Linked DNA regions of Homo sapiens: regions 1, 2 and 4 are each linked to region 3. The links are contacts of gene promoters, found by promoter capture Hi-C in blood cells and fetal thymus (Javierre and others, 2016). All regions are on one chromosome and are shown on one strand. The core of a region is centred on a gene start or on the middle of the fragment in contact, and the rest is flanking DNA. Distances in the headings are between cores, read along the strand shown.

What was found. Contacts are between HindIII fragments. The CHiCAGO score rates a contact against its expected background, and 5 or more counts as called.
Region 1: a contact is called between a fragment that was not itself captured here and the fragment with the promoter of GRIN2A in region 3, in 3 of 17 cell types (endothelial precursors, M2 macrophages and M0 macrophages). The highest score is 8.0, in endothelial precursors.
Region 2: a fragment that was not itself captured here is called in contact with the fragment with the promoter of GRIN2A in region 3 in 7 of 17 cell types (naive CD8 T cells, non-activated CD4 T cells, total B cells and 4 more); the score reaches 14.3 in naive CD8 T cells.
Region 4: a contact is called between a fragment that was not itself captured here and the fragment with the promoter of GRIN2A in region 3, in 1 of 17 cell types (M0 macrophages). The highest score is 5.8, in M0 macrophages.

What each region holds. Positions count from the first base shown.
Region 1 is chr16:9,180,309-9,183,110 of GRCh38, reverse strand. No RefSeq gene overlaps it. Among named protein-coding and RNA genes, the nearest start is that of HAPSTR1, 90 kb to the right of the region's middle. The HindIII fragment of the contact is 4,120 bases long and covers 1-2,802 here.
Region 2 is chr16:8,569,317-8,572,034 of GRCh38, reverse strand. TMEM114 (transmembrane protein 114) reads left to right here. Exons shown (of 4, transcript NM_001146336.2): 4 at 2,030-2,535. The coding sequence ends at 2,262. Among named protein-coding and RNA genes, the nearest start is that of TMEM114, 20 kb to the left of the region's middle. The HindIII fragment of the contact is 2,177 bases long and covers 238-2,414 here.
Region 3 is chr16:10,180,983-10,183,682 of GRCh38, reverse strand. GRIN2A (glutamate ionotropic receptor NMDA type subunit 2A) reads left to right here and starts at 1,255. Exons shown (of 13, transcript NM_001134407.3): 1 at 1,255-1,806. RefSeq lists silencers at 1,988-2,047, 2,058-2,167. The HindIII fragment of the contact is 14,826 bases long and covers 1-2,700 here.
Region 4 is chr16:9,127,883-9,130,599 of GRCh38, reverse strand. No RefSeq gene overlaps it. Among named protein-coding and RNA genes, the nearest start is that of HAPSTR1, 38 kb to the right of the region's middle. RefSeq lists enhancers at 2,454-2,533, 2,604-2,713, 2,694-2,717, 2,363-2,717. The HindIII fragment of the contact is 4,774 bases long and covers 1-2,717 here.

The DNA.
Region 1 (2,802 bases), core at 203-2,702, 1.0 Mb after region 3:
CTCTTCTTGCTGGGGGCGCAAAGAATCCTCCCTGTAAGGAGATTCACAGCCAGCTTCATCCAGAGGGAGCCACATCACCTCTTCCTCTGATGTTGATGCAGCCCTCTGGGGTATCCTCTTTTTCTGGTATTTCTGTCACAGTCTCCATCATCTCCCCTTCCCATCCTATTGCAGGATGAACCCAATGTTGGGGCTCACTGAGGAGGTTAATAAAAACTAGCTGGGCCTCCCTGAAACTGTTCCAAAGCTCAACCTCTTTCTAGAGCTTGCTTCCAAGAAAGGAACCCCGAAATGAAGAGGCCAGGTCTTCCATGAAGTATGTGGGGCAGGAGTGATCTCTGTCTAGCTACATGCAAAGCGTCTGTTACGGGTTTAATTGTGTCACCCAAAAGAGATACATTGAAGTCCTATCTGCAGCACCTCAGAATGTGACCTTATCTGGAAATAGGGTCTTTGCAGCTATAATTAGTTACATTAAGATGGGCTCATACCAAAGTAGTGTGGGTCCTTAATCCATTATGACTGATGTCCTTACAAGAAGAGGGTAAGACCAGGCGTGGTGGCTCATGCTTGTAATTCCAGTACTTTGGGAGGCCAGGGCAGGTGGATCACCTGAGGTGAGGAGTTCAAGACCAGCCTGACCAACATGGCAAAAGCCTGTCTCTACTAAAAATACAAAAAATTATCCAGGCATGGTGGCATGCACCTGTAGTGCCAGCTTCTTGGGAGGCAGAGGTTGCATTGAGCCAAGATCATGCCACTGCACTCCAGCCTGGGCACCAGAGGAAGACTCTGTCTCAAATAACTAAATAGGAGAAGAGACAGAGACACCGAGGGAAGAGGCCAGTGATGACAGATGCAAAGGTTGCAGTGACGCATCTACGAGCAAAGAAACTCCAGGACTGCTGGCAGCCACCAAGAGCCAGGAAAAAGCAAAGCACGATGCTCTCCTAAGTCTTCAGAAAGAGGATGGTCCTGCCCACACCTTGCTTTCAGACTTCCAGCCTCCAGAACTGTGAGAGAATAAATTCCTGTTATTTTAAGCTACTTGGTGTGTGATAATTTGTTACGGCAGTCATAGGAAACAGATACATCTCACAGTTCAAAAAGACAGAAGTTGCACCACCCAGACCAGTCACAGTGGCTCACGCCTATAATCCCAGCACTTTGGGAGACCAAGGAGGGCGGATCACTTGAGGCCAGGAGTTTGAGACCAGCCTCAGCAAAATGCCAAAACCCATCTCTACAAAAAAAAAAATACAAAAATTAGTTGGCCATGGTGGTGCGTGTCTATGGTCCCAGTTACTGGGGAGGCTGAGGTGGGAAGATTGTTTGAACCCAGGAGGTCTAGGCTGCAGTGAGCTGAGATCGTGCCACAGTACTCCAACCTGGACAACAGAACAAGACCCTGTCTCAAAGGAAGAAAAAAAGCTGCACTACCCTGTGTATCATAATCCCAGTTCACACACCTTTTCCAGCTTCCCCGCCTTTACATATGATGCCCCTTCCCCCAGAAAGCCCACCTCTCCCTTTGTCTGCCCAACAAAATTCCATTCACTTTTTATTTTCTTTTCCTTTTTTTTTTTTTTTTTTTTTTTAAATACAGGGCCTCACTGTTGCCCTGGCTGGAGTGCAATCCTCCCACCTTAGCCTCCCAAGTATCTGAGGCTACAGGCATGTGCCACCACACCTGGCTAATTTTTGTATTTTTATTATAGACTTGGTTTCGCTATGTTTCCCAGGCTGGTCTCAAACTCCTGGGCTCAAGCAATCTACCTGCCTCGGGCTCCCAAAGTACTGCGATTACAGGCAAAAGCCACCACACCCACCATCTACTCACTTTTTCAAGGTACATCTTAGATGTCACCTCCTCCAGGAAGCCCTCTCTGACCTCTCACACTCCCCACCACCACCATTGCTCTTGTATATTTCACCAGTGCAGCACTTGTCCCATTGTAGGACAATCGTCCGTTCATGAGTCTGCCTTCCCGGCTGGAGGATGAGCTCACAGAAGCCAGAGAACTCACTCACATCCCTAGTACCCACAAAGGCCTGGCCCAGAATTCCTCATCGGAACCAGAGTTCAGCTACATTCTTAATTAACAGTTTCGCCTCAGTGTATCTGTAACACTTTCTTCCTTCTGTAAAAGAGAGATCTGAAGCAAGCGTGACAAAATGCTAACATCTATTAACTCTCTAGGGTACATACACGGGTGTCATATTATTTCTTGTACTTTTCTGAAGGTTTGAAATATTTCCTAATGAAAATGTTCTCAGCCTTAAAAATGCAATGTAATGGGCTATCATGGACCACCACCAGTTCACCAGAGTGATTTCTTCTGGAAAAAGGCATCTCTAGTTCAAAGCATGCACCCTCGAGCACATTTGGAGGACTCAGCGCACCCTTGTGTCTGGGAAGGAGGAATATTTCTCAAGCGCCCCCAATGTGCTCTTGATTATGTTATTCCTGTTTTCATTATGACTGCAATCCTATGAGATCATTTGACTGTTTCCTTTTTTCAGAAAACAGACTTGTCATGGGGTGCAGTGGCTCACACCTGTAATCCCCACATTTTGGGAGGCTGAGGCTGGCAGATCACCTGAGGTCAGGAGTTTGAGACCAGCCTGGCCAACATGCTGAAACCTCGTCTGTACTAAAAATACAAAAATTAGCCTGGCGTGGTGGCAGGCACCTGTAATCCCAGCTACTTGGGAAGCTGAGGCAGGAGAATTGCTTGAACCTGAGAGCCAGAGGTTGCAGTGAGCCGAGATCGTGCCACTGCACTCCAGCCTGGGCGACAG
Region 2 (2,718 bases), core at 77-2,576, 1.6 Mb after region 3:
TGGGTACTGTGTATGAACCCTCAGCAAACGAGGGGGATCCCAGGGCCTCGTGGGGTTCAGTTTCCCCTTCTGGGATATCAGTTGGAAGAGATGAGTGGTTTCCAGCCCAGAATCACTTAGTCTCTGGTTCCAAGACAGGAGCAGTGCAGAGGGAGCAGCTTCCAAGAATCCTTTTCATTACTTCACCAAAGAAGCCGCATGTATTACCTTTGCCCAAACTCGTGATAGCTTCAAGCTTTAGGGCTGTGAGCTGGCAGGAGACCCTCGCTCCAGCCACCCTCGCTCTATTCTGCTGATCAGCCATTCTGATAGATACTGCTTTGATCGACTAAAAAACGGGCATGACCAGGCACAGAAAGACAAACACCTCATGATCTTTCTATGTAGAATCTAGAAGAGTCAAATTCACAGAAAGAGAGAATGGAACAGGCTGGGGGTGGGGGCAGGGGAGGGTGGGGAGATGTTGGTCAAAGAACACACAATTTCAGCTGAAAAGAAGGAAGTTCAGTGATCTATTGGGCGTCATGGTGACAGCAGTTAACAACAGCCTATTGTGTTCTTGAAAATCGCTGAGAGTAGATTTTAGTTCTCACCACACACAAAAGAAATGCTAAGTATGTGAGGCCGTGCCTGTGTTGAATAGTTTGACCGAGCCACTCCACAGTGTACACACACATATCAAATCCTCATGCTGTGTACCGTAAATACATACAATTTTTACTTGTCAATTAAACAGCAGCACACACAAAAACAAGATGAAACAAAACAACAGGTGGACAGACAATGGCTAGGTTAACACCACTGGTTGGTTTAGTGGACCAGAGGTTTTGAAAAATGGGACCTGGCACGTGGCTGGCTGCCTTAAAGGCTGTCTGTATCCCTGTGTATTTGAAATGTTCCTTTTAAAAAAAAAAAAAAGCAGTGATGACATGCTCCCTTGGAATCCACAGAGGAAAAAAAACAAAAGGGATGTCTGGAGGTGAAAATATTGCAAAGTTCTCATCTCCTCTAACCACTCACTATTATTATTACTATTAGCATTAATAGTTCACCCAGTGACAAATTCTCGAAACCAGCACTGCCTGGTAGAAGTTTCTGTGATGGTGGAGAAGTTCCCTAATCCATGCCGAGCATCGGGAGCTGCAAACCAGGCCAGGGCAGTGAGTGCTGATGGGGGACTGAGCTGTTAACTTCATTTAGATTAGTTAACTTAAATTTAAATAGCCATGTGTAACTGGTCAGTGGCTATCGTACTGGACCATGTGGCTCAAATCTAATATCTGTGGAGAACCACCGTGGGCCAGGCACCGTTCTCGGTGCTGGGGAATTGAAAATGAGCAAAACCAACAGGAGCATGTCTGCCCTCTGGACACTCACAGGCCACTGGGGGAGACAGATGTTAGTTAAATAATTACACAAACATGCCTGCAATCCCAGCACGTTAGGAGGCAGAGACAGGCGGATCACTTGAGGTCAGGAGTTTGAGACCAGTCTGGCCAATATGGTGAAACCCTGTCTCTACTAAAAATACAAACATTAGCCGGGCGCGGTGGCGGGCATCTGTATTCCCAGCTACTCAGGAGGCTGAGGCAGGAGAATAGCTTGAACCCGGGAGGTGGAGGTTGCAGCAAGCTGAGATCGCAGCAAGCTGAGATCGCACCGCTGCACTCCAGCCTGGGCGACAGAGCGAGACTCTGTCTAAAAAAAAATTACACAAAAGAATGCAAAGTTGCAATTGTGACCTGGGCAGTGATGGGCAGCTGTATGGTGCTGTGGAATCACTGCTCAGGCAAGTCCAGGAATCGAAGCGTGAGCTGCCATGTGTGGGAAGGGTAGGAGTTGCCGATGACAGGCAGAGAAGCAGGGGTGAATGCACCCAGCGGGGAGACTAGCACGCGCAAAGGTCCCGCAGCAGGAAGGAGCGAGGACGCTGGACGCTGAGCAGCGTGGCTGGGCAGGGCGAGGAGGAGGAGGGGAGTGCTGGGGCGGGGTGGGGGATTGATCTGCTCTCCCTTTGCCCTCCCTGCAGCCATGGTGACCCTCGCTGGGATCAGCGTCTACATAGCGTATTCAGCCGCCGCCTTCCGGGAGGCGCTGTGTCTCTTGGAGGAGAAGGCCCTCCTGGACCAGGTGGACATCAGCTTCGGCTGGTCCCTGGCCCTGGGCTGGATCAGCTTCATCGCCGAGCTGCTCACCGGGGCAGCCTTCCTGGCAGCAGCCCGCGAGCTCAGCCTGAGACGGAGGCAGGACCAGGCCATATGAGCCTGGGCGCTGGGTCGTGGAGGGGAGGGAGGGGCTTGGCCCCGGAGCTTCACCGACCGATCTCCATCGGCTGCGGCCTCTTCTTCCTCAAAGGCCACTCGGGGAGGCCAGGCACCCCCCTCCTTCCCCCACAAATCCCCGCGGACTAAGCTTGGGGCCTGGCTGTTATCCTAGTACCTGTGTGCTTATGTCCGTGTGTGTCCGTGTGGCCTGGAGGAGCCCGAGGGAGTGCCAAACCGCTTCGCGAGAAATAAAAACGATCCTTTAATCACACACAGAGCTTTACAGATTGCAAAGTCCTCACGCCCCCTCCGACTTCATTTCCTCCTCACCCATGTCCCTTGGATCAGCTCCTTGGTGGGTCTGGGAAAGGGAGAGGGTGCCCTACCTCCTGGGCCCTGTAATGCGTTCAGCTCTCTCTGGGGAGCTCTGGCCTGGAGTTCCTTTTGCTCTAAA
Region 3 (2,700 bases), core at 6-2,505:
GGCTCCCTGAGATCAGAGGAGTGGGTTCCCGTACGGGGGTGGCGAGGCACAGGGAGAAGCATTGGAGCAGACTCTGTGTGTGTGTGTGTGTGTGTGTGTGTGTGTGTGTGTGTGTCGGCGCGCCTGTGCGTGGAGGGGGATAACTGTACCCAGCGCGAGGCACTGGGGGAGGAGGAAGCGGTAGCAGAGATCTGAATAATTGATTCTTCAGCCGCACCAGACGCCCGGGAGCGGGCGGAGAGCGTGGTTCCAACACCACGGACAGCAGCGCGCGCCGCCGCAGGCGCCCCCGTCGCCAGCCAGCCACCTATCCTGGCCTTATTTGCCGCCGTGCGCTCTCGGAACGGGTGGCCGCGCTCCGCGTCGCCGCCGAGGGACTGCGGGGTCTGTCTCGACCCACCTAGGAGAGAGGCTGCGGGCAGGAGACGCTTTCGCCCGCCGGAGCTCGAAGCCTCTTGGGCTTGAGCGGGGGCTACTGCGTCTCGCCGGCTGAGAACAAGTCCCTAAGTTGGTGTGGAGGGCGCCGCTACCTTCCTTCTCCTCTTCCTCGGAGGCGACCGCAGCAGAAAGACGCCCCGGGAACCCGGCTTTGCCAGTGCTGTGAACCAGGGTGTCCAGGCGCTCACCGGACTCCCGCTGGGAAGTGGGGAGCCGAACGCCCGGCGCGGAGCTGGCCCAGCAGCGAAGGGCCCGGAGGGAGCTGCCTTTCCCCGCCCGCGCCTCTCTCGGCCGGGGACCGCGGGGATCCCCGGCCACACGCGAGCGCGCTCCCACACTCACACACACACTCGCCCTCAAACACACCAGCCCGGAGCTGGGTTGCGGAGAGGGTGCTCCGGCGCGCTCAGAGGACCGGGCAGTTGCCGTCCGGAGTGGGGCAGGAAGCGGAGCTAGGGATCTTGGAGGGGAGCTCCTAGGGCTTGGCCGGATCATGGGACCGGGTGAGCGCTGAGAATCGCGGCCGCAGCCATCAGCCCTGGAGATGACCAGGAGCGGCCACTGCTGAGAACTATGTGGAGAGAGGCTGCGGTGAGTGCTAGCGCGGGACGCCGGGCCTGGGAGGCCCCCTTGGGAAGGGGGGAGGTGGGAGGCCTGAAGAGGGAGGAAGCGGCAGGATCACAAGAGGGTCGCTGCGTGGGAAAGATCCACCTCCCTCGGGGAACCGGGACCGCGGGAGCCCGCGTCCTTCCCTCCCCCTCTCCTACTGCTGGCTCGTCACAAACTCAGCCAGCGCCCCCCCACCCTCGTTACCTCCTCTTTCTCTCCCTACCTCCCTCGCTCAGCAGCTCCCGGTCGCACAACTCCCAGCAGCCGGCGCTGGGGAGGTGGTAGGGGGTGCGGGTGGAGGTGCCCAGTTAGCTTCTCGTGGGTGGCCAACCTGGGGCTCCCATTCTCCTGTGCACCCTGGAGTGGAGCTCCCGCTATCAGCCACAGGGGCTGAGGATCCGCACTGGGGGCGTCGTGGGCATCGGGCTTCAGCTTCCCCCCTCTTGTCTAGCCCCCCTGGGCGCATAGGGGGGCTTGTGAGCACTGCAGACTGCAGCCTTCCCCTCAACCCTCCCTCCCCTCGTTGGTGGGCTGACCCTGCCTCTCCTTCTCTCCTCCGCCCCGTTAGAGCCCTGCTGCAGAGCCTCCGGCTGGGATAGCCGCCCCCCGTGGGGGCGATGCGGACAGCGCGGGACAGCCAGGGGAGCGCGCTGGGGCCGCAGCATGCGGGAACCCGCTAAACCCGGTGGCTGCTGAGGCGGCCGAGATGCTCGTGCGCGCAGCGCGCCCCACTGCATCCTCGACCTTCTCGGGCTACAGGTACGTCCCAGAGGGAGATCAGGGCTCCTTGGGCCGGGGAGGAGGGAGACTCGACCGGAGGGAGAGCGGGAGAGGGATCAGGCTAGAGAGGGAGAGGGAAAGCGGGAGGGAGCCCAGCGGCGAAGTGCAGGAGGGGCACCAGGGGGCGCTGCGGCTCCGCGCTCCGCGGCGCTTACCCAGGAACGTCGAGGCCTCTTGGAGTTCGCCTCAACTTCCCCCGGCTCCAGCAGCGTCCGTCCCGAGAGGCGCGCGTCAGGGCACGCGTGCACGACCGTGCTGGTATTTGCAGGTACGCAGGGCTGTGCACCTGCCGCAGTTCATGCGTGTGCACCACCTGAGGACATGTGAGGACTCCGGCTGGCCGTGGGCACCGCTACAGCAGTCTGAGGAAGTGCGCAGAAAAGCGCGCGTGCCTATGAGCGTGTGCGGCCCACTGCCCACGTGCACCTAGGACTTGGCAACAGCGCCCGCAGTAGAAAGGCTAGGGAGGGGCTGTACAGTCCACGTCCGTCTGGGAGCTTCTTGGGAGCCTACCTTTCCCCCTACGCACGTTCTTTGCCAGCTCCTACGCGCTGGCCCGCGGGGGGACGCGCCTACTCTCCAGAATTCAGCATTGCACACGGCGCGCGTGAGAGAGGGTGTGTGTGTGTGAACATGTGTGTGTGCGTGTGTGTGTGCACGTGTGTGTGCACGCGCGCGTGTAGGGGTGAAGGACTCTCCACGGCCCCTTGGCTCGAGGTGGGGCGAGCCCCAAGTTCCCCAGGCACAGCGGAGCCTGGGCCCACCAGGCAGCGTCCTCACTCCCAAGCACTTGGGGTGTACTCTGACTGAGAGGAGCCGGGTCTGTAGTTGGGGCTGGGCGTAGAGCAAAGTGTGTGGTGCACACGACGGGCT
Region 4 (2,717 bases), core at 188-2,687, 1.1 Mb after region 3:
AGTGCTACCATTACAGGTGTGAGCCACTGTGCCTGACCTTAATTCTGTTTTATCTCAAAATTTATTTAGCTATTCTCAGCTGTGAATTCTTTGAGCCAAACATGAATACAGTACTTCCGATCAGTTTCCCAAAATCCCTTTGGATTTGTGTTAGAACTATAATTTGCAAAGAAATAGCACTTAGGTGTGAAGAGGGTATGAAACCTCATCTTTACAAAAAATAAATTAGATGGGTCTGGTAATGCACACCTGTAGTCCCAGCTCGGTAGGCTGAGGTGGGAGGATTGCTTAAGCCTGGGAGTCTGAGGCTGCAGTGAGTTATGATTGTGTTACTGCACTTCAGCCTAGGTAACACAGCGAGACCTTGTCTCAAAAAAAAAGTGGGGGGGCATTTTGCTTAGGGTCACACAACTCAGTAAGTGGTGGGGCCAGGATTCAATCAGGCAGCCTGTCTCCAGAGACTGCGCATCGGCATTATTTTGTTTAGTCCTGTCGTATTTTCTTTAGTATTCTAAACCAGCCACCTTAATAAAGAATTCTATTTTTCTCATAAAGAAAAAGCATAATTTGGAGCCCGCCACAGTGGTGTGCACCTGTAGTCCCAACTACTCAGGAGGCTGAGGAAACAAGATCACTTGAATCTAGGAGTTTGATGCCAGCCTGGACAACATAGTTGAGACCCTGTCTCAAAAAAAATTTTAATTAAAATTTTAGGCCAGGAGTAGTGGCTCATGCCTGTAATCCCAGCACTTTGGGAGGCCAAGGCGGGTGGATCATGAGGTAAGCAGTTTGAGACCAGCCTCACCAACATGGTAAAACCCCGTCTCTACTAAAAATACAAAAAAATTAGCTGGGCGTGGTGGCGGGCGCCTGTAATCCCAGCGACTTGGGAGGCTGAGGCAGGAGAATTGCTTGAAATCGGAAGTCGGAGGTTGCAGTGAGCCGAAATTGCGCCACTGCACTCTAGCCTGGGCAATAAGAGCCAAACTCCATCTCAAAAAAAAAAAAAACACTAAAATTTTAGGCCAGGCACAGTGGCTCACGCCTGTAATCCCAGCACTCTGGAAAGCTGACATGGGCAGATCACCTGAGGTCAGGAGTTCAAGACCATCCTGGCCAACATGGTGAAACTCCGTCTCTACTAAAAATACAAAAATTAGCTGGGCGTGGTGGCAGGCGCCTGTAATCCCAGCTACTGAAGAGGCTGACGCAGAAGAATCACTTGAACCTGGGAGGCAGAGGCTGCAGTGAGCCAAGATTGCACCACTGTACTCCAGCCTGGGCAACAGAGCAACACTGTCTCAAAAAAATTAAATTAAATTAAATTTTTTTAAAAGGCATAATTCAGTGGAAAAAGCATCAACAGGAAACTATTCTCTCTCTCTCTGCTTACACAGGGAACCACCACCGTTTATCTGGAGTGAATAAAAAGCCAAGTTAAACACATAAAAGTGACCCCACATGTCATTCTCCTGGATCACATGCTCCACGGAAGCAAGGGTTGTGCTCTGATAGGATCAGGTAAGGAAATGTTGCACAGGGGAAGAGGGCCTGGACCTTACAGAGAGAAAATCCTAAGTGAGAGTCGCAACTGGACATCTCACACAAATCACTCCACCTTTCTGAGCATCAGCAAAACAGGCACAAACACGTCCCTTGGGGATGTGCATGGAAAGCACCCAGGAGCCGGCTGGGGAATGGGCTTATCAAGACGACTGTGGTGACTGGCCCCTCGCATCCCACTGTGGGCATTTCATGAATTCTTGCAGGATTGGTGGACTTCCAGTTTGTCTTGTCCCCACTCTCCTGCCTACAGAGAAGCTAGAGCCTGCTTTGCACACAGCCATAGATTTGTCTGCTGCCAAAGGATAACAGGATTACAGCCACAACCAAGAGCCCTAGGGTCCTATAGAACAGAGCCCCGAAGGGCAGGCCCAGGGCACCACCAGGACCCCACCTGGTAGTGTGGAAACGGGAAGATGTTTGGGGCGGGGGGAGCAGGTTCTAAACCCAGAGAATAAGCACCTGCGAGTACAGTTCACTGATTCCTGAGCATTCCAGCCCAGAACCCCAGATCCAGGACAGGCGAGGGAGCCCATTTTAGAGATGGGGATAGTGAGGCCCAGAGAGCTGTTTCCGAAGGAGCATGGAAGCGTACCTGCCCATTTTCCCAGGTGTCCTGACCCAAGAGAAGCCAAAGACAGCCCTGTCCACAGATGTGCTTGGTGGGTCAACCTGGTCTGTTTTTAAATACACAGGTTCAAGTGTCCTTAAACAGATGTGCACTCTGCGAATCGCTGTGGTCTCAGGCTGCCAGCATCTGAATGCACCACCCCAAGCAAACAGGATGCATTTTCACAATTAACTTGGGGTTTTATCACCCAGTTTGAGACAAAAGGCAGCGGAGCCCAGACAGGGCAGTGAGTTAAACAAGGTTAGCAAGTAAATGCCCAGCACTACAGGTCCTTCTGGGCACAAATGGCTCAGTGAACCAGACTGGGCACTCGGAGACGGAGAGGTGGTTCCTCAGGGGAACTGAAAATCCGGGTGGGGAAAAGAGGACGTGTCTGAGCTGTGGAATCTGGCAGCAGACCCCCCTCGCTTCAAATCCTGACTCAAGAAGTTCTGGGCCCGTTTGTCAGCACCCCATTCGCCACCAGGGACCTCCCAGGACAAGCCCTGCCGTGGGAAAACTGTCGCTTTAAGGGTCTGGTGGG